Regions from separate parts of the Homo sapiens genome. Here all the other regions are linked to region 1. Evidence: promoter capture Hi-C in 16 types of primary human blood cells and fetal thymus (Javierre and others, 2016). All regions are on one chromosome and are shown on one strand. The core of a region is centred on a gene start or on the middle of the fragment in contact, and the rest is flanking DNA. Distances in the headings are between cores, read along the strand shown.

Region 1 (3,306 bases), core at 300-2,799:
CATACTACAAAACAGAGATGGAGAGTAAGTCTTGGTTTTGGTAGTTTTATTAAATAAGATTTTTCCACCGCAGCTGAGTTCACAACAGTGTACTTGAATCATCTAAAGAAAGCAAGGACGGGGAAGAAATATCCTGGAGAAATGTTGAAATCTTTTCTCCTCCAAGGTTACTATCACCCTGCCTGTCCATCACAATTTTGATTTCAAGTATTCACGATGCTGGTCTGAAACACAGGATGCATCAGAAGCCAAGTAATGCTCAGCAAAAGTTCACCAAAATTGTGAAAGCAAACATTAAATAAAAAACGTTTTCAATTAACAGTAAAATATCTTTAAAGGATCATCTCTAGCCTTTCTTTCTGCAGGATCCACCCACTTTAAAATCCTTTGGTAAATTCCCAGGTCTACCCTAATTGAATGGTCCCTCTCTATCTGCTCAAGCAGTTCTTAACCCTTTGGAGTGGGGATGGGGGTAAGGGGACATCACAGCAAATATGGACCCTTACCAAAGAAAATTATTCACAAATGCAAAATTCTACACACATTTCCAAAGACTTCCAGAATCCCACGGCCATTACCCCCACCGCCTCCCTAAGAATCCCAGAGTGGCGTGCTTCTCAATGGCCTCTGCGGAGCACCCCCAGCCCCCAAGCCACAGCCCCCGGCTCGACCCCGAAGAGACTAGAGTTCCTGCTCTCACACAGCGGATTCCGTAACTGAGCTTTGTCTCCTCGCCCAACTCCCTTCACCCCGGCAAGGTCACTACCGCCAACTACCCCTTTAAGCCGAGCCATCACGGTAGGAGTTCGTAACAGCCACAGCAGAACTTGCCTGTCATAGGATATATTTTGTCCCCTCGGCCCCACCTACCCTCCCCATTTCGGCAAGTTACGTCTTTACCACTAGCCCATTCTACAGAAATAGCTGCCGCCGCCACCCTCCGGCGCGCCCCGGCCCCGCCGCTCCGCCTCCAGCGCCCCCAGGCCCATTTCCCGCAGACCCTCCCCGGGCCGCCCTCCCCTGCCCTACTCTAGGCGCTCCCTCTCCCTCGCAGCCACACCGTGGCTGCACTCGCCGTCCTCTCTTCCGGCCGCTACCACCCCGGCCCCCTAGAACCCCAGCCTCCCGCGCCCGCAGCCGCGTTCCTGTCTCCCCGACCTCCGCACCCCCACTTGGCCCGGCCTCCTCGCCTTCCTCCCGGCTCCTCCCCTCAGGACACCTGTGTCGTCCCACCCCCTCCACCACACACGCACCCCCCACCCCAATTCCTTCGCCTCCCTGTCCTCCCTCCCCCGCCGGTCTCCCCTCCCCGCTGCTGCCCCGAGAGCCCGATGTGGGAGGGAAGGCGCGGGGGAGGGGAGGCCGCGAAGGGGGCTGCTTTTCTCCGGGTTCCCCGTGCTGCGGAACTGCAGGGCTCCCCAGCGCCCTCTGCCTTCTTCGCCGGCGGCGCGGAAGTCGGGGTCTCCCGGACGCCCCCGATGAGGGTATTTACCTTCTTGCCGGGGACACTTTGCAGACGGCTCCAACATTGGCAAACACTACAGAGAACTGACCCCGCTCGGCCGCCGCCGGCTTCCACCCCTCGGGCTCCCCGCCCCCCGCCTCCGCCCGCCTCCGCCCGCCTCCCCGGCGCTCCCGCCGCGCCCTCCCGCGCTCGCGCCGCGCGCCCCCGCCTGCGCAGCCGCTCCCGCGCCCCAGCACGCCCGGCCGGCGCGCGCGCCCGGCACCGGCTCTACCTCCACTCCGCCTCCCGCCGGCCCGCGACCAAGCGCGGCCATTGTTCGCGACGCAGCTCCCGCCCCCTGGCGGCTGCCGGGCCCCAGCAGCTGCAGGCTCTGCGGGGCTAGCGGCGGCGAGCTGGGCCCCTGGGCGAGGGCCATTCCCGGGGGGCTTGGGCACGCGGGCGAGCGACTGCGCAAGGAGCGCGCCCGGTCCGCAGTCTCCTCGTCCCCGGCGCGACTCCCCGCCCCCTCGTCTGCCAAGGGTGGGCCTGGGGCAGCCCCTTCCACACCTGCAACTCGGCAACTTCCTTCCCCGCCCGACTGACCGTCTGCTCTTTCTGGTCCGCACCCTGTGCTCTGATTCCCCGCTCGTACCTTTCCCAGGCTCTCCGGCTGCCCCTCTGTGCTGTGCAGGGGACGCGCGACCATCCCGCGTCTGCTCCGGCCGCCGCTGTGCAACGCACGGTTTAGCGGATCTTGCACCTTTCTAGACGGGGGAGGGGGCGGGGAGGAGGTTGCTTCACCGTCTCGCCCAGCAAACACCAGGGATCCGTGATCACCTGCTCGCCAAGACCCGCGGCGTGGCCAGACCTCCTCTTCTACCGAAAATATTAGTCACATGAAAAAGAATCCTTGGAGCCAAAAATGAGAACCATTGAAAACAATGCCCTGAATCCTAGATTTATGAGGCAAGAGTGCCAGAAAACAGAAATTACGTCTTAATTCGTCCTGGTTTTGATGTGGATTACTTTTGTCTAGATAACTTCAACCCAGTTAAGCTCAATGAAACTGAACACTTCGTTTAGTAACCGGCACCAAAAATAATCTGACAAAGAAATTTCGAAATAGAACTATTAGTGTGTTTTCACAAACTTACTCGTTTGCAACGTTATTTCTAGGGTTTCTTCCCAGTGTCACTTCTCTGACTGAGAAATGTCTCCCAGGCCGGTGATTTCAGTCATCATCTAAAACCAATCTCATGTCTGCACCTGGGAAGGTAGTGTGTGTCCTGGTTAACCGCAAGGGCGCCAGAGTCAGATAACCAAGGCTGGATATCCGCTTGCTAACTGGTGAGGAGACCACGGGCATGTTACTTATCCTGTGCATCAAGAGGAGACTACATGTGATAGATAGTTCGTATTTAAATGTGACAATACATATGAAGCCCTTTAAATAGGACCGGGTATGTAGTACCTCTCCTGGTACAATGTTAGCTACAGCTATATTTTTCCTCCCAGAACTCTTTCCTATGCTCCTTTCCCCCCTTTTCACCTCTGCCAGTTCCCTCGGATTTAACATGTTGCATCCTCCCTAAATTTGCTGTGCTCCTTCTAGCGGCTTACGCACCCAGTCAGCATTCTAATACAGTCATGCCTTACCTAGCCACAAGGATATGTTCTGAGGAACGTGTCATTAAGCGATTTTTGTTGTTTTGCGCACATCATAGCGTGTTCTTACGCAAACCTAGGTAGTCTAGCCAACTACTTGCTTTGGCTATATGGTATATAGCTATTGCGCCTAGGCTGCAAACCTGTACAGTGTGTTACTGTACTAATACTGTAGGCAATTTTGCAACACAAGGGTA
Region 2 (3,296 bases), core at 279-2,778, 270 kb after region 1:
TTCAATTAGGAAAAGAGGATGTCAAATTGTCCCTGTTTTCAGATGACATGATTGTATATTTGGAAAACCCCATCATCTCAGCCCCAAATCTCCTTAAGCTGATAAGCAGCTTCAGCAAAGTCTCAGGATATAAAATAATGTGCAAAAATCACAAGCATTCCTATACACCAATAACAGACAAACAGAGAGCCAAATCATGAGTGAACTCCCATTCACAATTGCTACAAAGAGAATAAAATATCTAGGAATCCAACTTACAAGGGTTGTAAAGGACCTCTTCAAGGAGAATTACAAACCACTGCCCAACGAAATAAAAGAGGACACAAACAAATGGAAGAACATTCCATGCTCATGGATGGGAGGAATCAATATTGTGAAAATGGCCATACTGCCCAAGGTAATTTATAGATTCAATGCCATCCCCATCAAGCTACCAATGACTTTCTTCACAGAATTGGAGAAAACTACTTTAAAGTTCATCTGGAACCAAAAAAGAGCCTGCATTGCCAAGACAATCCTAAGCAAAAAGAGCAAAGCTGGAGGCATCATGCTACCTGACTTCAAACTATACTACAAGGCTACAGTAACCAAAACAGCATGGTACTGGTACCAAAACAGAGATATAGACCAATGGAATAGAACAGAGGCCTCAGAAATAACACCACACATCTACAATCATTTGATCTTTGACAAACCTGACAAAAACAAGCAATGGGGAAAGGATTCCCTATTTAATAAATGGTGCTGGGAAAACTGGCTAGCCATATGTAGAAAGCTGAAACTGGATCCTTTCCTTAAATCTTATACAAAAATTAATTCAAGATGGATTAAAGACTTAAATGTTAGACCTAAAACCATAAAAGCCCTATAAGAAAACCTAGGCAATATGATTCAGGACATAGGCATGGGCAAGGACTTTATGACTAAAACACCAAAAGCAATGGCAACAAAAGCCAAGATAGACAAATGGGATCTAATTAAACTAAAGAGCTTCTGCACAACAAAAGAAACTGTCATCAGATTGAACAGGCGACCTACAGAATGGGAGAAAATTTTTACAATCTACCCGTCTGACAAAGGGCTGATATCCAGAATCTACAAAGAACTTAAACAAATTTACAAGAAAAAATCAAACAACCCCATCAAAAAGTGGGCAAAGGATATGAACAGACACTTTTCAAAAGAAGACATTTATGCAGCCAAGAGACACATGAAAAAATGCTCATCATCACTGGTCATCAGAGAAATGCAAATCAAAACCACAATGAGATACCATCTCACACTGGTTAGAAAGGCGATTGTTAAAAAGTCAAGAAACAATAGGTGCTGCAGAGGATGTGGAGAAATAGGAATGCTTTTACACTGTTGGTGGGAGTGTAAACTAGTTCAACCATTGTGGAAGACAGTGTGGCAATTCCTCAAGGATCTAGAACTAGAAATACCATTTGACCCAGCCATCCCACTACTGGGTATATACCCAAAGGGTTATAAATCATGCTACTATGAAGACACATGCACACGTATGTTTATTGCAGCACTATTCACAACAGCAAAGACTTGGAACCAACCCAAATGTCCATCAATGATAGACGGGATTAAGAAAATGTGGCACATATACACCATGGAATACTATGCAGCCATAAAAAACGATGAGTTCATGTCCTTTGTAGGGACATGGATGAAGCTGGAAACCATCATTCTGAGCAAACTATTGTAAGGACAGAAAACCAAACACTGCATATTCTCACTCATAGGTGGGAATTGAACAATGAGAACACTTGGACACAGGGCAGGGAACATCACACACCAGGGCCTGTCATGGGGTGGGGGGCTGGGGGAGGGATAGCATTAGGAGAAATACCTAATGTAAATGACTAATTAATTGGTGCAGCAAACCAACATGGCACATGTATACATATGTAAGAAATCTGCACATTGTGCACATGTACCCTAGAACTTAAAGTATAATTTAAAAAAAAAAGAAAAGAAAAGAATGGAAGGTATGAGCAAGATATGAGCTTTCTTGGCAGGCACAGTGGCTCAAGCCTGTAATCCCAGCACTTTGGGAGGCCGAGGCGGGCAGATCACTTGAGGTTAGGAGTTCCAGACCAGCCTGGCCTACATGGTGAAACCCAGTCTGTACTAAAAATACAAAAGTAGATGGGTGTGGTAGCACATGTTTGTAATCCCCGCTACCACCCGGGAGCCTGAGGCAGGAGAATCACTTGAATGAAGGCAGAGGTTGCGGTGAGCCAAGATCCCACCACTGCACTCCAGCCTGGGCTACACAGTGAGACTCCAGTCTCAAAAAAAGAAAAACCAAAAAAAAAGATAGCTTTCTAAGACAGACAAAACAATTGAAAAACAAAAAAAAAAGGGTTCTATCCAACAGAAGAGGTTAGAACTCCTTCCACCTACCTGAACTGCTAAGTGTTAGGACAGTCTCCCTTAATAGAAATCTAGGGTTTTTTCTTTTTTTCTTTTTTTTTTTTTTTGTGACAGGGTCTCGCCCTGTCGCCCAGGCTGGAGTGCAATGGCGCAGTCTCAGCTCACTGCAACCTCTGCCTCCCAGGTTCAAAAGATTCTCCTGCCCCAGCCTCCCCAGTAGCTGGGATTATAGGTGCATGCCACCACGCCCAACAACTTTTTTTGTATGTTTAATAGAGATGGAGTTTCACCATGTTGGCCAGGCTGGTCTCAAACTCCTCACCTCGTGATCAGCCCACCTCGGCCTCCCAAAGTGCTGGGATTACAGGCGTGAGCCACTGTTCCTGGTCTAGTGGTTGTTCTTAATTTCTTTCTCATATCCTCAAGTCTCATCCATCTTCCTCCCCTGCCCCTTACACAAAGTTTACAGAGTTGGCTTTATGACCAGAGTCCAGGGCCCCATATACGGAAGGGCCCCATGCTTGGGGTTTAATGCCCTGTGATCATAGTCTTGAAATTCTTAATAATTTTATCTTTGAGTGTGTGTTTTGTGTAAGTGAAATCTAATGAGATGATGAGGTATGAACCCACCTTCCCTGGACCGGTTCTTGGTTCCCGCTGCCCACTTCCCTGCTGGCACCATGGGATCCCCTCCCCTCTTCTGTCCAGTGCAACCTGCTACCCTCTGCTCCTGGTGAAATCCTGGCTACAGGGAGGGTCAGGATCCGGTGTGGGTGCCCTGCAGTATCTTGGGTGGGCATGACAGTGGCTGCCCTACCTGGGCTGGCAGCACCACAGCCCTGTTCAGCAGCTGACTAGTTGGGCACACCATCCCCTGCCCCACCCCGAAACAGGTAGTGTGTGGAGGT
Region 3 (3,619 bases), core at 302-2,801, 290 kb after region 1:
AAGTAATGGGTGTCTTCCCAGGCACTGGCATTACCGCTTGACCAAGGAGCCCTCAAGCGGCCCTTATGCGGGCGTGACAGAAGGCTCAGCTCTTGCCTTCTAGGTCACTTCTCACAATGTCCCTTCAGTACCCGACCCTATACCCGCCAGTTATTCCTAGGTTATATTAGTAATGCAACGAAGAGTAATATTAAAAGCTAATGATTAATAATGATTATACTAATGATTGATAATGTCCATGATCATCTCTATATCTAATTTGTATTATAACTATTCTTAATCTAACTATTTTCTTTATTATACTGAAACAGTTTGTGCCTTCAGGCTCTTGCCTTGGCACCTAGGTAATCTTTCACCCACAATCCTATTTGTCCATTTTTGGTTTGGTTGCTTGTGCTTGTGGGGTATTACTCAAGAAATCTTTGCCTAGACCAGTGTCCTAGAGAGTTTCTTCAATGTTTTCTTGTAGTAGTTTCATAGTTTGAGGTCTTAGATTTGTCTTTAATCTATTTTGATTTGATTTGTATACATAATGAGAGATAGAGGTCTAGCTTCATTTTTCTGCTTATGGATATCCAGTTTTCCCAGCACCATTTATTAAAGAGACTGTTCTATCCCCATGTATGCTTTTGGTAGCCTTGTCAAAAATCAGTTCAATGTAGATGTATGAATTTATTTCTGGGTTCTCTATTCTTTTCCATTACTCTATGTGTCTGTTTTTTTTTTTTTTTTTTTTTTGAGATGCAATCTCACTCTGTCGCCTGGGCTGGAGTGCAGTGGCACGATCTCAGCTCACTGCAACCTCTACCTCCCGGGTTCAAGCAATTCTCCTGCCTCAGCCTCCCACGTAGCTAGGACTACAGGCACGTGCCACCACACCGGGCTAATTTTTTGTATTTTTAGTACAGATGGGGTTTCACCAAGTTAGCCAGGATGGTCTTGATCTCCTGACCTCGTGATCCACCCACCTTCTTGCAACTTTTCTATAAATTTGAAACTATTATGAATCTGAAATTATTTAAATATTTACTTAAAATTAGTGTTGCGGGAAGTCAGGGACCCCAAACGGAGGGATCAGCTGGAGCCGCGGCAGAGGAACATAAATTGTGAAGATTTCATTTTAATATGGACATATATCAGTTCCCAAATAATACTTTTATAATTTCTTATGCCTGTCTTTATTTCAATCTCTGAACATAAATTGTGAAGATTTCATTTTAATATGGACATTTCTCAGTTCCCCAAATTAATACTTTTATAATTTCTTATGCCTGTCTTTAATCTCTTAATCCTGTTATCATCATAAGCTGAGAATGTACATCACCTCAGGACAACTATTGTGTTAACTGTACAAATTGATTGTAAAACATGTGTGTTTGAACAATATGAAATCAGTGCACCTTGAAAAAGAACAGAATAACCGCAATTTTCAGAGAACAAGGGAAGACAACCATAAGGTCTGACTGCCTGTGGGGTTGGGCAGAATAGAGCCATATTTTTCTTCTTGGAGAGAGCCTATAAGTGGACGTGCAAGTAGGGAAGATATCACTAAATTATTTTCCTAGCAAGGAATATTAATAATTAAGACCATGGGAAAGGAATGCATTCCTTGGGGGAAGTCTATAAACGGCCGCTCTGGGAGTGTCTGTCTTATGCGGTTGAGATGAGGACTGAAATACACACTGATCTCCTGCAGTATCCTCAGGCTTATTAGGGTGGGGAAACCCCCCCCACCACTAGTAAATTTGAGGTCAGACCGGTTCTCTGCTCTTGAACCCTGTTTTCTGTTGTTTAAGATGTTTATCAAGACAATACATACACAGCTGAACATAGACCCTTATCAGTAGTTCTGTTTTGCCTTTTGTCCTGTTTCCTCAGAAGCATGTGATCTTTGTTCTTTTTGCCCTTTGAAGCATGTGATCTTGTGACCTACTCCCTGTTCTTGCACCCCCTCCCCTTTTGAAATCCTTAATAAAACTTGCTGGTTTTGCAGCTCAGGTGGGCATCATGGTCCTCCTGATATGTGATGTCACCCCTGTAGGCCCAGCTGTAAAATTCCTCTCTTTATTCTCTTTCTCTTTATTTCTCAGCCAGCTGACACTTACGGAAAATAGAAAGAACCTACACTGAAATATTGGGGGCAGGTTCCACCATAAATTAGCTAAAAATAAACATTTTTAAGTTAATTAAAAATAACAAAGGCATGCATGCATTACTGTGTACCTTTCTAGTCAAACTAACAGAATTTGAGACTGGGGCTGGGCACAGAGGCTCACGCCTGTAATCCCAGCACTTTGGGTGGCTGACGCAGGTGGATCTCCTGAGGTCAGGAGTTCAAGACTGGCCTGGCCAACATGGTGAAACCCCATCTCTCTAAAAATACAAAAAATTAGTCAGACATGGTGGCAGGTGCCTGTAGTCTCAGCTACTTGGGAGGCTGAGGCAGGAGAATTGCTTGAACCCAGGAGGTGGAGGTTGCAGTGAGCAACCGAGATCGTTCACTCCAGCCTGGGTGACAAAAGCGAAACTCCATCTCAAAAAAAAAAATTTGGGATTGGACTCACTCAAAATTCTGCTTTTTTACACAAGAGCATAACTCTTCCAACACGAGCATAGCACTGAGGTAAGAGGTTATGTTAGGAATGAATGAGTGCTGGAATCTTGTAGAGGCAGTTTCTTAATTTCAGACAAACCAAACAAAACCTGTTTGTACAGAGGTCTAGGTTCTAGTCTTTAGTAGTCCTTAAAAGTTTGTTAAGATTTAGGCTTTAGGATCTGGAGAACTTTTGTTTTGTTACCTTTTTTTTTTTTTCGAGACAGAGTCTTGCTCTCTTGCCAGGCTGGAGTGCAGTGGCGTGAGCTCATCTCACTGCAACCTCCACTTCCCGTGTTCAAGAGATTCTCCTGCCTCAGCCTCCCGAGTAGCTGGGACTACAGGCATGTGCCACCACACCCTGCTAATTTTTTGTATTTTTAGTAGAGACGGGGTTCCCCATGTTGGCCAGGATGGTCTCAATCTCTTGACCTCATGATCCACCCACTTCAGCCTCCCAAAGTGCTGGGATTACAGGCATGAGCCACCATACCTGGCCGGTTTGTTACCTTTTGAAGAAGAAAAGGCCCACAGGAGGGTTGATACAGCAACCACATCCCTGTCATTCACCAACGCTTAATGTCTGGCACATAGAGGTGCCAGTAAATATTGAATGATTAGGATCAGTAACTCAAAATAAGTCTACAGGGCAATACAGGAACAGGGGTAGGGAGGTGTGGGCCAGTGAGATATGCTAGCTGAAGTGATTCTCAGTGAATGAAGAGGTTGTCAATTGGGACTAATTCTGAAGTCCTGTGTGTCACAGATGTGTGAAGATTGTGTTCTTGCTGTCAGAATTCTGTAGGGCTTTATTCAGGGCTTTTGAGAGGTAAGATGCGAGCTTAGACCCAAAAGCAATGAACTGGAATACTCAGCCAGGGACTGCAGTTGGGATAGACCATGCAGCAGTGGTGGGGGCACTGCCATTGCCAGTGGTCTTTTTGCAGGTTGAGGTTGACTGGAATTTGCTCATATTAGTTGCCAAGGAGGTTGACACATGTGTATTTGTCATTTTTTAATTGGCCT
Region 4 (3,593 bases), core at 202-2,701, 310 kb after region 1:
TTTAATTTGAGTGGTCTGAACTCACTAAAATGGCGACTTGGTAGCCAGGCTCACACCTGCAATTTTACTCTAACAGCTTAATTTCCTTACCTTACGTTTTATTCTCTGTTAAAGTAATCCAGGGGATGAGGTGTTAGCATAAGTTATGCTTCAGTATAAAAATGCGGAATAGAAGGGATAGAAAAGGGCAGTGAACATCTGTGGAGTAGAAAAGGGTTCCAGCTAGAGGTGAAAGCATGCATTCACTTTCTGGGATCCAGCCTGCCGTGATTACCTTCTTAGGCCTTCAATACTTCGTGAGCCTAAGGGCAGCTAGTAGTCCTGTTTGAAGAGGATACTTCTCCAGGTCTAGGCTTGAACAAATATGCCTGGGAGACTCCTATGACTCTAGCATATTAGATAGATGCTCCAAGAAACACTAGGACAGACTTTCTTTTGATTTCTTGTAAGGGTGAAAAAAAAAAACTAAAATATTACAACACAGATTATGCTGAACACATTCCCATTATCTTCCAGAGTGGTCTATTAAAATGCATTTCCATTTTATTTTCTTCATGATAGTTTTAATTATATTAAGCTGATCCAGAGGAAACTTCTGGATTATAACTTTAATTTCTACCTTAAACCTAAACTTTCTGCTACTCATGAACTTTAGCTTTTGAAAATATCATCCACTGCAAAACCTTTATGGAGAAAAATTTAAGTTTACTAGAGAATGTATTAGTCAGGGTTCTCCAGAGAAACAGAAGCAAAAGGATACTTACATATCTACACCTATCTATCTATCTAGAAAGTTTTTCTTTTTTTTTTTTTTTGGATGGAGTCTTGCTTTGTCACCCAAGCTGGAAGGCAGTGGCGCAATCTCGGCTCACTGCAACCTCCACCTCCTGGTTTCTAGCGATTCTCCTGCCTCAGCCTCCAGAGTAGCTGGGATTAAAGGCATGTGCCATGACGCTGGGCTAATTCTTGTATTTTAAGTAGAGATGGGGTTTCATCATGTTGGCCAGGCTGGTCTTGAACTCCTGACCTCAGGAGATCCACCCGCCTCAGCTTCCCAAAGTCCTGGGATTACAGGCATGAGCTACTGTGCCCGGCTGAAAGAGATTTATTATAAGATATTGGCTCATGCAATTATACGGAATGAGAAGTCCCACAGTTTGCTGTCTGCAAGCTGGAGACCTAGGAAAAGCCAGTGACGTAGTTCAAGGCCTGAGAACCAGGAGTGCCAAGGGCAGGAATTGATGTTTCAGCTCAAGCAGTCAAGCAGAGAGAGGATAATCCAAACTTCCTCCACCTTCTTGTTCTATTTAGGCCTTCCACGGATTGAATGATGTCCACCCACATTGGGGAAGGCCATCATCTTTACTCAGTCCACCAATTCGAGTACTAACCTCTTCTGGAAACACCCTCATAGACACACCCAGCAATAGTGTTTAATCAGATATCTGAGCATACTGTGGCCCAGGCAAATTGGTACATAAAATTAACTATCACAAAGGACACGAAAGAACAGCTGAAGAAATGAAGAAATCTAACATATTTATGGAAGCAAATGCTTGATAGAAAGATGTGAATTCTCCATAAATTAAATTATGAATTTAATGCAGTTCTAATAAAAATCCCAACATTATTGTGTGGAACTTAACAAACAGATTCTAAGAACTTCTAGCCAAGACATTCTAAAAAAGAAGCAGGAGGTGGGGATTTCTCTATCAGATATAAAGACATTTTTAAAAAGTTGTATAAATAAAACTGTACTACTGACACAGAATAGATAATTAGATCTGGGAACAGATTATATTTATAGGGACTTTCCATATACCCGTTGGAAAAGGGTAAATTCAATAAATGGCATTGCCAAAATTCACCTTCCTTATGGAAAAAAAATAAAATGAAATGTCTAATTCACATTTTTGAGTAGTTAAATTTCCAAAAAAGTTAAATTTCAAATGGATTACAGGTCTAAATGTGAAAAGCAAAACTTCAAAACTATTATAAGAAAATCTACTTAAAACTATTAGGAGAACAGCTTTATGATCTCAGGGCAAAATATTAGGCAAACAAGACACAAACAACAAAAGTATGAAATAAAAAAAGAGATAAATTTTGTTACATCCAAAACTTCAAACTTTGCTTGGGCGCAGTGGCTCAGGCCTGTAATCCCAGCACTTTGGGAGGCTGAGGTAGGTGGTAGCACTTGAGCTCAGGAATTTGAGACCAGCCTGGGCAACGTGGTGAAACCTTGTCTCTACTAAAAATACAAAAATTAGCTGTGCGTGGTGGTGTGCACGAGTGGTCCCAGCTACTCAGGGGGCTGAGGTGAGAGCCCAGGGGGCTGAGGTGAGCCCAGGAGGCAGAGGTTGCAGTGAGCCAGGATCATGCCACTGCACTCTACCCTGGGAGGGAGAGCCAGACCTTGTTTCAAACAACAACAACGACGACGACGACGACGACGACAACGAAAAACTTCCAACTCTTATTGTCAAAAGAAAAAAATACCATTAACAAAGATAAAAGTTAAGTGTCTGTCTGAGAGGTGTTTTCAGTTATAACAAACAATTGATATCCAGAAAATGTTTTCTTAAAATTTTATAAATCAATTAGCAAAGTTAAAAAAATCTAATGGGATAGGCAATAGGCCATTCTTAGCCTTCAGGTCTTGGCTTAAAATTCACTACCTATCGGAACCCTGACTTTCAGTCGGGGTAATTATATCACAATACTTTTCACTCTTAAATCATTTTTCCTTGTTGAACACCTAGACAGTGAACTCCTAGAGAGGAGGAAACAAATCTGAGGTGTTTTTTCTCTCCACTTTTGAGTCTCAGCTTCTTGCACATAATAGGTGTTCGATAAATATATGTCGAAAGACTGATGGAGTAAATGAATAAACCTGAGTCCCTCCTTGACCCTTGCGTACTGCACAGGCATAGCCCTCTCTTTGCTGTGCAAATCTAGAGGGTGGATGTTGGAACTCACAACCAAATTCATTTCAGGTAGTAAGCTGAGGGGTAGTCTGGTCACTCCTTGCCCTCAAGTTTTCTCCTGTATCCTAGGAGATTATGTTTCCTCAGGAGAAGTAAACTGATCTATTTATTTAACACTTGGGGTAATTCCAGGCCCACGTGGTCCTTCCAAACCTCTTTCTGGTAATCCAGTTTTCCGGTTTTGCCGTAGCAGGTTCTGAGCTTTGTTATTTGCTATCAAAAATACCATCCCTATTCAACAATGACAAAATGTTGAGCATTTCTATACCTTCGTGTCCTGGAGAATGGAACCTCTGTTTGTGTTCACAGGTATAATGCTATGTAATTTTTCTACTGCTTATAGGATGAAGGCCAAATTCCTTGGCATGCCAAATCAAGCCCTTTGAGGATCTGGCCTGCTCCCTTCTCTAGGCTCCTGTGCCACCTGATCGCTGTTATAGACTGAATGTTTGTGTCCCTTCCCATTTTAAAATGTTGAAACCATAACCTCCAATGTGATGGTTTTAGGAGGTGGGGCCTTTGGGAGGTAATTAGGTCTTGAAGGCAGAGCCCTCATATGAATGGGATTAATGCCGTTATAAGAAGAGACTTGTAGAGCTTGTTTCC
Region 5 (3,348 bases), core at 619-3,118, 480 kb before region 1:
GTGAGTGCAAAGGCTATAAAACCAGAATGAGGTTGGCATGTTCTATAGGTAGACAAGCTCTGTGTATCACAGCTATGGTATCCAATATGGTAGACCCTAGTCATAGGTGGCTACTGAGCACTTAAAACATGCTAGTCAGAATTGTGATGTGCTATAAGTGTAAAATACACATCAGATTGCAAACACTTCTTGAGGAAAAAAAAAAGAATCTAAAATATCTCATTAACAATTTATATGCTGTATTGATTTTATGTTGAAATGATACTAGTTTGGATACTTTGGATTAAATAAGGTTATTTACATTAATTTCACCTGTCTCTTTTTGCATTTTTAATGTGGCTTTCAGAAATTTTTAAATTACATATGAAGCTAGCAAAGGGGAGAGGAGAATAAGACAAGGTTTGAAAGATAGCAGATATCAGGTATTTTAGGGCTTTATAAGTCATAACAGAGTTTGGATTTTATTCTACGTGCATCAAAAATCCATCAGAAGGCTTTGAATAGGAAGAAACATCTTAGAGTTGGGTTAAAAGCAAATCTCTGGTTTAAAGGCACATAAAGGACACTGTGGAACACAAAGAAGGGAGTTGTTAATTCTCAGGAAAGGCTTTAAGGAGATGACCCCCCTAAGCTAAGTCCAGGTTGGAGGAGTGGTCAGACCTCTTTATAGAGTCGTTGCTGGGCAATGACACAGAGGTATCAAAAGAACTTCTCTGTTCAAGGAATGTAAGCAGTTAAATATGGCTAGCATGGTGATCTCTCCCATGCCATTCTTCAAAGAATCCTAAATCTATATCTTCAGGCATCTCTTCTGAGCAATCAGCATACAAAAAGAACTGCTTATTAGGGAGCTTTACCTGGATGTCTCAAGGGCATCTCAAATTCAAAATGCCCCCAAACTAGCCACGTTTTCCAACTGAAGTATGTTTCCTTCCAGATTCCCTAACAGTACCTGACATCATCATGCTCCAGTAACAAAAGGTAGAAACCTGGATGCCAACATGGACACCCCTCTTTCCTCCTAAATCTTGTCATTCAATAAGAGCTGTTCGTTTTATCTCTTACATATCTCTTAATCTGTCTACTTCTCTCCATCTCCACCCTACTCCAAGCTACTGTCATTTCATGCCTGGGTTGTTGTATTAGGATTTAACTGATCTCCTCACATCCAGTCACATTCCCACAGTCTAAAATTTGAATTTCAAAACACTAATGAAGGTATCTTAACTTTTAAAAAATGATTCTTACCTTTTCTTGTATCTCCATTCATCTGGAGAACAGAAAAGAAATTGATAAAGAGGGAGACAGAAGAGTGAAAACCTTCGGCCACCTCTGGCTCATTTAGGATGACTGTGTAGCTGGCAGGCAGCCTTCTGGGCTTTTCAGTGAGTGAATGGACCTGCTTATGGTCCCTCACAGAACTCTGAGATGGAGCAATCTATGAAGCCCTTCTATCTTGGGATAGATTGCTCAAAGTTTCTATCCACTCATTTGAGGTGTCATCATGACATGGGAAAAGATGGCTGGAATATGAATGGCTTACACAAGAATATTTTCCACCATATAAAAGCCTGGCCAGACCTCTCAAGGCTGGTGCCAGGATGTCAGAGAGCCAGACTACTTCTATCTTACTGCTCTACCTCCCTGAACGTACAGGATCTACCTTATGGTTTGAGGTGGCTTTTCAGTAGGTGAATGTTTATATGGTGCTGATGGCAACCAAGGTTTCCAGTGTTGGAGAAAAACATAAAGATTTAAGATCAATAAGATTAAGTGAAAACTCCCAAAGTCCTAAACATGAATTGGAAGTATCATTATACAGGCTTTTATTTAAAATAACCATGAAAAAATGTTTCCTAGCACTGTCCACTGAACTGCAGGCGCCCAGAAACAATCATCAAACCAAGAGCATTAAAAACCCCTAACAACCAGGCTGTGATCTCATTCCTGAAAAAAGAAAAAAAAAACTAGGGCCCCTGGAAGAAGTAGCTGATTCCAGGTCTGTGGTAGGAAATATACAAAATGAACCTGTAATAATTTGTCATTTCAGAAGTCTAGGAATCTATCAAAGACAACTGCAATCATGGCAGTCACCGATTTAATGAGGTGCCAACTGACCAAAGATAGGACTATAAACCTTAATAAGAATATTAACTTTAATGGATTAAAATATGTTAAGCATGTAGAATACACAAATGTGTAAATATACGGTAATCCCCCCTTATCCCTGGGGAATACAGCTCAAGACTTCCAGTGTGTGCCTGAAACTGTGGATAGTACTGAACCCTATATATGCTATGTTTTTTCCTATATATACATACCTATGATAATTTATAAATTAGGCACAGTAAGAGATTAACCACAACAGCTAATAATAAAATAGAACAATTATAACAATGTACTATAATAAAAGTTATGTGAATGTGCCCTTTCTCTCAAAATATTTTATTGTATGTAATATTTTCTGACCTCAGTTGATGATGGATAACTGAAACCAGAAACTGAAAATGAGGGGGAACTGCTGTACAGCACTTAAAAACAAAACAACAGCAAAAACAAATGAAAACCTTACTCATCTTTGGAGGATACTAAAGGATCAACTTAATTTGAAACCCAATACATATCAGGAAATAACCAAGCATTTATTCAAATAAATGATGATAGGAAAGTTTCTCACAGTATCTCAACTAATAAATGAGGGAATTAGAGTATGATTATAAAATATTACCATTTTGCAAACCTTAATAAATGGAGCTTGGCAATTATGACGATTAATGTTTTGTTTCAGCTTGGTTAGGCTATATAGTATCTAGTTATCTAATTAAACACTAATCTAGGTGTTGCTGGGACAGTATTTTGTAGATGTAGTTACCACGTACAGTCAGTTGACTTTAAGTAAAGGAGATTTTCCTCAATAATCTGAGTGGGCTTTATCTAATTAGTTGAAAGTCCCTGGAGAAAAACTGATGTTTCCTTGAGGAAGGAAATTCTACCTCAACACTGCAGTACTAACTCCTGCCGAAGATGTGTCTCTGGCAGAACACCACCATCTATATAGCATTCTTGCCAGAAAAAAATCAAACCCAACTCTGATGAAGCCTTTAGATCTAACTCCTGATTTAGAGGAATAGAAGACAAAACAACATATTAAATGGCATCGCGGGGATACAATCAGCAAAATCAGACTGCAGTTTTGACCTGAGACAAATAAACTGTTTCTTTCCACAAATAAATTACAATTAATCAGTCAATCATCCGTATAGGGGGTAGGGATAATCTATAGATTAAAAGAGATTTAAGAAACATAGCAGGCTGGGCGCGGTGCCTCATGCCTGTAATCCCAGCACT
Region 6 (3,570 bases), core at 891-3,390, 430 kb before region 1:
CCTGTCAGCTGGTAGCAGAATATGGTATTGGAATCTTGTGATCAAATTAATCATGGTAGTCAAAGTTCTAGCTCTACATTTAATAGCCAAAGTCAGTTATTAAAAGTTTTCTCTTTTGCAAATAAGAAAATCCCTAGGCCCCTTCCAACTCTAAATTCTGTAAACTTCCTGTTTCATATATTGGTTACTGACTTTGAGACCCCCTAGATCAAGAGTCAACCATATTTTCCTGCTGAAGAACTTGATGTCCTCTTCTGTTTTTTAGACAGTAAAGAGGACACTGCAATAGAGTGCAATTCTCTGACTTACATTTAGCATCTAGCAAACCTTGCCAACCAGCATGGGCACCAGCTCACTCTGGAGACTGAGCACATGTACTGCATTTAGAGACCCCTTTACTAGATGATAACTCCTGATCTATCCATCCTTATACTTGATGTAACACAGCAGTCCTATTGGTCAGCAAATTATCTGTGCTGCCCTCTCAGATCCACCCATGCGTCACAGGCATTAATCTATACCAAAGCCGTTTGGCTGTGTGTTTCAGATTTGCCCTTTATGTTCTTCTGACGACTCTTTGAGACAAAGTTAAAGATTATGAACCTTAGCTTGAACTGACTGGTGTCATGGCAACTAGCACTTCACCTTTTGCTGGTCTCTATCTCATACATGCTACAATATTTGTGCACATTAATAATTCATTGCAAAGTGCCAGATTTCTTTGTGCTGTCAAGCAGTGTCAAGGACAGAATATGCTGTGCTATCTCAAATGTCATCTACCAGACTGTTGAGGGCAAGAGTAATTAGAAAAGAAAACTAGTCAGGTTACTTGGGAAAATTCCTGAAAATGTGATGCTTTCTAGTCACCCAACTATAGCATTTTTCTTGCAAAGTATGGAATAGAATTCATGTTGATCAAAGTTTATTTAATAATGCGCCCCAGACATAAGGCAGGAGTTTGGAGTAATTGCTCGCCTCTATTCAGGCAGCAAAGGAAATGATTAACAGCCTTCGTGCTCAGTCACGTGTACTGGGCTCCAGCGGGAACCTGAGCACAGGCTTAAAAGAAACCCGAGTGGTCCTGATGTGGGTGCTCCTACCCCAAGCCTGCCTTTGCCCGACACAGAGCAGAGCTGAGTAAATGTTTGACACCAGCTTTAGAAACAAGCCGTCTGGGATCTCAGGCTGATTAGCGGCCCTGGATAGCTTTCTTCACCTCTCAGTTCCCTCCGCGCAGCTCTTTGGTGGTTGTTGACGCTGTGAGTGATTGTTATAGTAATTGCAGTGTTGCCTGTAATTAATGAGCCTTTCAAATAAAAAATATGGATCTTTGTCTTAAAAATGTGGAAAATGCAAAGATACATTGGATTTAATTTATACAGAAGGCCAGATTTGTCCTTGATTAGGCAAAGAAATCACATGTTTTAAACTGAACATTGACTCACCTGTGCTTTACAGAACAAAACAAATAATCTCCCTCTCAAAAGAAAGCTTCATATTACAACCAGCCAGCATGTGTCGTACTTTACTCTTTAAAATTGGAATATATTTCTCCAAATGTTTATAGCCCACAGTTGGAAAAGATTTTTTTCACATAGCCATATCTGGATTGTTTGGTTTCTCTTTCTCTCTCCCTTCCTCTCCCCACCGGCCTCCTCTCTCTCTCTCTCCCCCCACCGGCCTCCTCTCTCTCTCTCTCCCCCCACCGGCCTCCTCTCTCTCTCTCTCCCCCCACCGGCCTCCTCTCTCTCTCTCTCCCCCCACCGGCCTCCTCTCTCTCTCCCCCTCGCCCTTTTTTGCTTCCTTTTCCTTTAAACCACTAGCTTAACTCCTCTTCAGACAATTTGGGGGTGGGGGGAGGGTCCCACAGGTGGAAGTGTGTCCCCACGTCACATTTTTTAGAATATGCAGCCATACTACCCTCCTTATGGACAAACTGGAACTATTTTATTTAATTTAATACCACCAGATTCATTTCAGGGCAAGAAGGGGAGGGGATATTAATCAGTTTCAGAACGTTGCAACAAATTACACTTAAAGAACAGTTAGGAACTTGTTAATCTTCTGTCACCTACCTTGATGTGGTGCTGGGGATCTGGATTAGTCATTTAATACCTGCAGGCAAGACCAGAGCACGTGAATACAGGGAAGTCATTACAGCCAACCTGCTATGGTGTCTGAGTTTCTAGTCAGAGCCAGCCGCTGGCTGGAGTTAGAGTGGACACGTGAGTGAGTGATTCAGATTTGTCAGGTAACCAAGTAGCAGGTTCTGATAGGAATTTGATATTGGATGTAATTTCTTAGGATTTAATATTGAGTCCTTATACTTTAACTTTTATACAGAAAGATAACTAAGACCCTTTATGTTAAGTTTATTGCTGTCTTCCAAGACTAGGCAAATTTTCAAAACTTAAAAATGATCTCTGGTTAACGTCAATAATATGTTTTATACTTTTTGGCTAATCTGGGAACAATTAATCATAACTAGATACTTTTAAAAGACATATAGGCTTGATTACTTAGGGATATGTTTTCTAGTTGTTTGAGGCAGGGTCTCGCTCTGTCGCCTAGGCTGGGGTGCCATAACACAATCACGGCTCACTGTAGCCTCGACCTCCTGGGCTCAAGCGATCTGTCTACCCCAGCCTCCCAAGTAGTTGAGACTACAGGCACACACCACTATGCCCGGCTAATTTTTTGTATTTTTTGTAGAGGCAGCGTTTCACAGTGTTTCCTAGGGTGGTCTTGAACTCCTGGGCTCAAGTGATCCTCCCGCCTTAACCTCCCCCAAAGCTTGGGGATTACAAGTGTGAGCCACTGTGCCCAGCTGTTTTCTAGTTTAGATTGGAATATATAAATTCCATTGTGATGTTACTTTATTTCAATTCTGTGATATAATACCCATGTATAAATTATAGAGCCTAAAGTTGAACCCATAATAACCTGAAGTACCAGTTTTTGACTTTTTCTGGTAACAGATCAAAATAATAATTACTGTCATAATTACTCTTTCTGTTTTTACTACTACAAAGAAATACAATCAAGCTGAAACATGTGTCTCTCTTCCTCAGCAGTGTACTTGGGCAATGCAGTAATGAGAAGTGTGTTCACTTGCTGTATTAGTCTGTTCTCATACTGCCATACAGAAATACGTGAGACTGGGTAATTTACAAAGAAAAGAAGTCTAATTGGCTCACGGTTCTGCAGGCTGTACAGGAAGCATAGAGGCTTCTACTCCATTTCTGGGGAAGACTCAGGGAGCTTTCAGTCATGGTAGAAGGCAAAGAGGGTGCAGCAATAAACACGGCAGAAGCAGGAGGAAGCGAGGGGGTGGGGGCTGCACACGTTTAAACAACCCGATCTCGCAAGAACTCACTCATCACTAGAGCAGCACCAGGAGATGGTGCTGAACCATACATGAAAAATCACTCCCATGATCCAGTCACCTCCCACCAGGCCATACCTCTGACATTGAGGATTATAGTTGACCTGAGATTTGGGTGGGGGCACAGATCCAAACCGTATCACTAGCTCTCCTCCACAGTGCCTGTCTCAGTGTAGCAAGGTAAT
Region 7 (3,198 bases), core at 155-2,654, 350 kb after region 1:
CTTTTCATTGACACATCCAGGGCTCAGACCTTAGATCGCTCCTTTTTCTCTGCCTTCCACATGCTCTTGGAAATCTCATTTGGTCTCATGGCTGTCTGTGCCGCAAACTCCCACACGAGCACCTCCAGCCCACACCTGTCCCTGAATTCCAGACTCACAGAGCCAACCATCTATTCCATGTCTCTGCATTTCCACCTTCACGTGTCTGAAACTGAACTCTAGATCTTTCTTCCAAGTTGGCTTTCCTTGCCTTCTTTCACATCTCAGTTAAGGACAGCTTCATGTGTTTAAGTGCCCGAGCCAATTGCCTTGGAAGCATCCCTGACTCCTCTCTTTTGCTCACATTCCACATCTAACCTTTCAAAAAACCCTAATATCTGGAATCTCGTTACCACTTCTTACTATCTCCACTGCAACCACTTTGGTCTGATCCACAAACATCCCTTGCATGGATTCTTGCAGTTGCCTTTTAGCTGGTCTTCAAGCTTCCATCCTTGTCCTCCAAGGTTGATTCTCCCCATTACTCTCAAAGTAGACCAAGGCCCTCATTAAGACCAATGAGGCTCTGCATGATCTGTCCCTTCCCCCAACCATTCCCTCTCTGACTCCTCTTCCTGTCACTCATCCATTTCAGACACCATGGCCTCTTTGCTGTACCTTTAACTTTCTAGATGTGTTTCTATTTTAGGGCCTTTGCACCTGTGGTTCTCTCTGCCTGGAATGTTCTTTCCCAGACATGTGCATCATGAACTCCCTCACTTAAAATCTCTGATGTCATTTTCTTGCTGAGGTCACCTTGACAACCCTAAGTACCATTGCAACCCTCTCCCTCCAGCCCTGCTGACTCTCCTGCTCTATTATTTTTCTATAACAATTATCATCTAGTAAGATATTATATAATATGCTTATTTTTATGCTTTTGACAATTGTCAGCCATTTCCCACTAGAATGTAATCTTCATGGGGGCGGGGACTCTGTCTGTTTTGTACCCCAGCACCTATGATGGTATATGACACATAGCAGGTCCTCAGTGGATGTTTGTTGAATGAATGAAAGAAAGCTATAGATGCTAGGATGGCTGGCTTGCTCCCAGGGTGATGTGAATACTTCTCTCTCAAGCCTTTGATCGGGGGAGACCTCACTTCCTAAAGTGTTTGTTGGGGAGCAGGAGCAAGAATGAAGTTTCCCTGGGGGTAGTTTCTGGGAGAGAGAAAAAGAGAGCAGACCTTTCCTGCTGTTGCAGGGATGACTTGGGTGGTTCCTACTTGAGTGACGGAGGTGGGTGGTCAGGGAGCCTGGACTGGCTTGATGTATTTTGTATTCTGATATTTTTGCTTAACATTATATCATGAGCATTTCCTAATTTTAAAAATAATTTTCATGGTGATTGTTTTAATGACAGCATACTTAAAATACAGTGTTAATGACCCAGCCTTGAAAGTAGATATGTGGATGCATGGAGATGATCATGGGTTGCTTTTGAGAATCTGAGGGTAATGTAGTTAAGAGCACAGGTTACCGTTAGGCTGTCTGGGTACAAATCCTGACTCTGGCCCTTTCCGCCTGTGTGCTCTTAGACAATTCACTTTCCTGTGCCTTACTTTCCTCCTCTGTAAAATTGGAATAGCAACAGTACCTGTATCTGTAACAGTAGTAGTGTTATTTTGGAGAATAGAAGAGTTGATATTTATAAAGTACTTGGGGCCAGGCACATTGGCTCATGGCTGTAATCCCAGCACTTTGGGAGGTTGAGGTGGGTGGATCACTTGAGGTCAGGAGTTACCAGCCTGGCCAACATGGTGAAACCCCGTCTCTCCTAAAAAATGCAAAAATTAGCTGGGTGTGGTGATGTGTGACTGTAGTCCCAGCTACTCAGGAGGGTGAGGCAGGAGAATCGCTTGAACCCGGCAGGCGGAGGTTGCAGTGAGCTATCGTGCCACTGCACTCCAGCCTGGGCCACAGAGCAAGACTCTGTCTCAAATAAATAAATAAATAAATAAGTAAATAAATAAGTAAATAGATAAATAAATAAACAATGTACTTGGACCCCAGTTACTCAAAGTGTGGTCTTCAGACCAGCATCATCAACAATACCTAGGGGCTTGTTATAGTAGAAATGCAGACTCTCAGACCTGGCACCAGCCCTGCTGAATCAGAAGCTGCCTTTTGACACTATCCCTAGGTACTTTCTATGGCCAGCAGAGAAATTGACTTAAGCAGTGCCTGGAACACAACAAGTACTACATAATGTTGGTTAAATTTTAGAGCAGGTATGGTTTTTCACCAGTCAGACCTCTAAGGCTTATTTCTTGTTTGTGTCAGGTAAGCTTTTCCAATAAATAGCTGGGGGACTGTCTCAGGCCAATTACTGTGTACCTCTGGGCTTCAGCTTACTTGTCTGTGATGTGAGAGTCAGAAATGAGTAATTTCAGAAGTATCTTGCCAGCTCTAGCCCTTCGGTATTCAATACTGCCTCTCAATTCACACTTTACTGAGCAGGGAGTTAAAGAAGACCCAGGATTTCTTTTGGAAACTGTATAAAAAAGTAAGGCCTTAGAAAAATGTTTACAAATGTCCCTTATGGTGCAAGCTAATCATGCCAGAATTGTCCGAATTAAAAAAAATCTCACAGGTTCATCTTATTCTGTCTTTTTATATTCTTTTTGGAGACAGAGTCTTACTCTGTCACCCAAGCTAGGGTACAGTGGCATGATCTTGGCTCAGTGCAACCTCCGCCTCCTGGGCTCAAGCGATTCTCATGCGCCAGCCTCCTAAGAAGTTGGGATTACAGGCACCCACCACCACGCCCAGCTAATATTTTGTATTTTTAGTAGAGACTGCCATGTTGGCCAGGCTGATCTCAAGCTCCTGACCTCAAGTGATCCACCCACCTTGGCCTCCCAAAGTGCTGGGATTACAAGTGTGAGCCACCACACCCAGACCATCTTATTCTGTCTTAGTATTTATTTGATGATACTAAGAACTTGCAGAATTCTGTTGCTCTTGACAGCAGCTGGTCTATTATTAGCCCTTTTAGAATAAAAAACAATGACCCTTACAAATTATCTAACTTTTGGTGACATAATTGCTTCATAGCCCATGATTCAGACAGAGTTAGCAATTCTAAGAGATTAATTTTCTAAAATGTAGCCAGTAATCACACCCTAACAGTCTGAAAGGGGTCCTAGAAAATAGTCC

Evidence for each region. Contacts are between HindIII fragments. The CHiCAGO score rates a contact against its expected background, and 5 or more counts as called.
Region 2: a fragment that was not itself captured here is called in contact with the fragment with the promoter of STAU2 in region 1 in 1 of 17 cell types (activated CD4 T cells); the score reaches 5.7 in activated CD4 T cells.
Region 3: a fragment that was not itself captured here is called in contact with the fragment with the promoter of STAU2 in region 1 in 3 of 17 cell types (activated CD4 T cells, neutrophils and naive CD8 T cells); the score reaches 13.7 in activated CD4 T cells.
Region 4: a fragment that was not itself captured here is called in contact with the fragment with the promoter of STAU2 in region 1 in 4 of 17 cell types (activated CD4 T cells, neutrophils, non-activated CD4 T cells and 1 more); the score reaches 14.1 in activated CD4 T cells.
Region 5: a fragment that was not itself captured here is called in contact with the fragment with the promoter of STAU2 in region 1 in 1 of 17 cell types (neutrophils); the score reaches 5.2 in neutrophils.
Region 6: a fragment that was not itself captured here is called in contact with the fragment with the promoter of STAU2 in region 1 in 3 of 17 cell types (neutrophils, M1 macrophages and naive CD8 T cells); the score reaches 5.5 in neutrophils.
Region 7: a contact is called between a fragment that was not itself captured here and the fragment with the promoter of STAU2 in region 1, in 2 of 17 cell types (neutrophils and activated CD4 T cells). The highest score is 12.9, in neutrophils.

Annotation. Positions count from the first base shown.
Region 1 is chr8:73,745,291-73,748,596 of GRCh38, forward strand. It overlaps STAU2 (staufen double-stranded RNA binding protein 2), which reads right to left and starts at 1,550. Exons shown (of 15, transcript NM_001164380.2): 1 at 1,493-1,550. RefSeq lists silencers at 953-1,012, 1,123-1,302, 1,593-1,682, 1,763-2,052. The HindIII fragment of the contact is 14,890 bases long and covers 1-3,306 here.
Region 2 is chr8:74,020,102-74,023,397 of GRCh38, forward strand. The region is part of intron 3 of LY96 (lymphocyte antigen 96); the gene reads left to right. Among named protein-coding and RNA genes, the nearest start is that of LY96, 30 kb to the left of the region's middle. The HindIII fragment of the contact is 3,841 bases long and covers 1-3,296 here.
Region 3 is chr8:74,039,983-74,043,601 of GRCh38, forward strand. It overlaps a transcript of LY96 not described here. Among named protein-coding and RNA genes, the nearest start is that of LY96, 50 kb to the left of the region's middle. The HindIII fragment of the contact is 7,934 bases long and covers 1-3,619 here.
Region 4 is chr8:74,057,724-74,061,316 of GRCh38, forward strand. It overlaps a transcript of LY96 not described here. Among named protein-coding and RNA genes, the nearest start is that of LY96, 68 kb to the left of the region's middle. The HindIII fragment of the contact is 7,541 bases long and covers 1-3,593 here.
Region 5 is chr8:73,264,888-73,268,235 of GRCh38, forward strand. It overlaps a transcript of C8orf89 not described here. Among named protein-coding and RNA genes, the nearest start is that of C8orf89, 7.0 kb to the left of the region's middle. The HindIII fragment of the contact is 6,052 bases long and covers 1-3,348 here.
Region 6 is chr8:73,313,491-73,317,060 of GRCh38, forward strand. The region is part of intron 2 of RDH10 (retinol dehydrogenase 10); the gene reads left to right. It overlaps RDH10-AS1 (RDH10 antisense RNA 1), which reads right to left. Exons shown (of 6, transcript NR_125388.1): 5 at 2,076-2,115. Among named protein-coding and RNA genes, the nearest start is that of RDH10, 21 kb to the left of the region's middle. The HindIII fragment of the contact is 1,302 bases long and covers 1,490-2,791 here.
Region 7 is chr8:74,095,728-74,098,925 of GRCh38, forward strand. It overlaps a transcript of LY96 not described here. Among named protein-coding and RNA genes, the nearest start is that of LY96, 110 kb to the left of the region's middle. The HindIII fragment of the contact is 1,842 bases long and covers 484-2,325 here.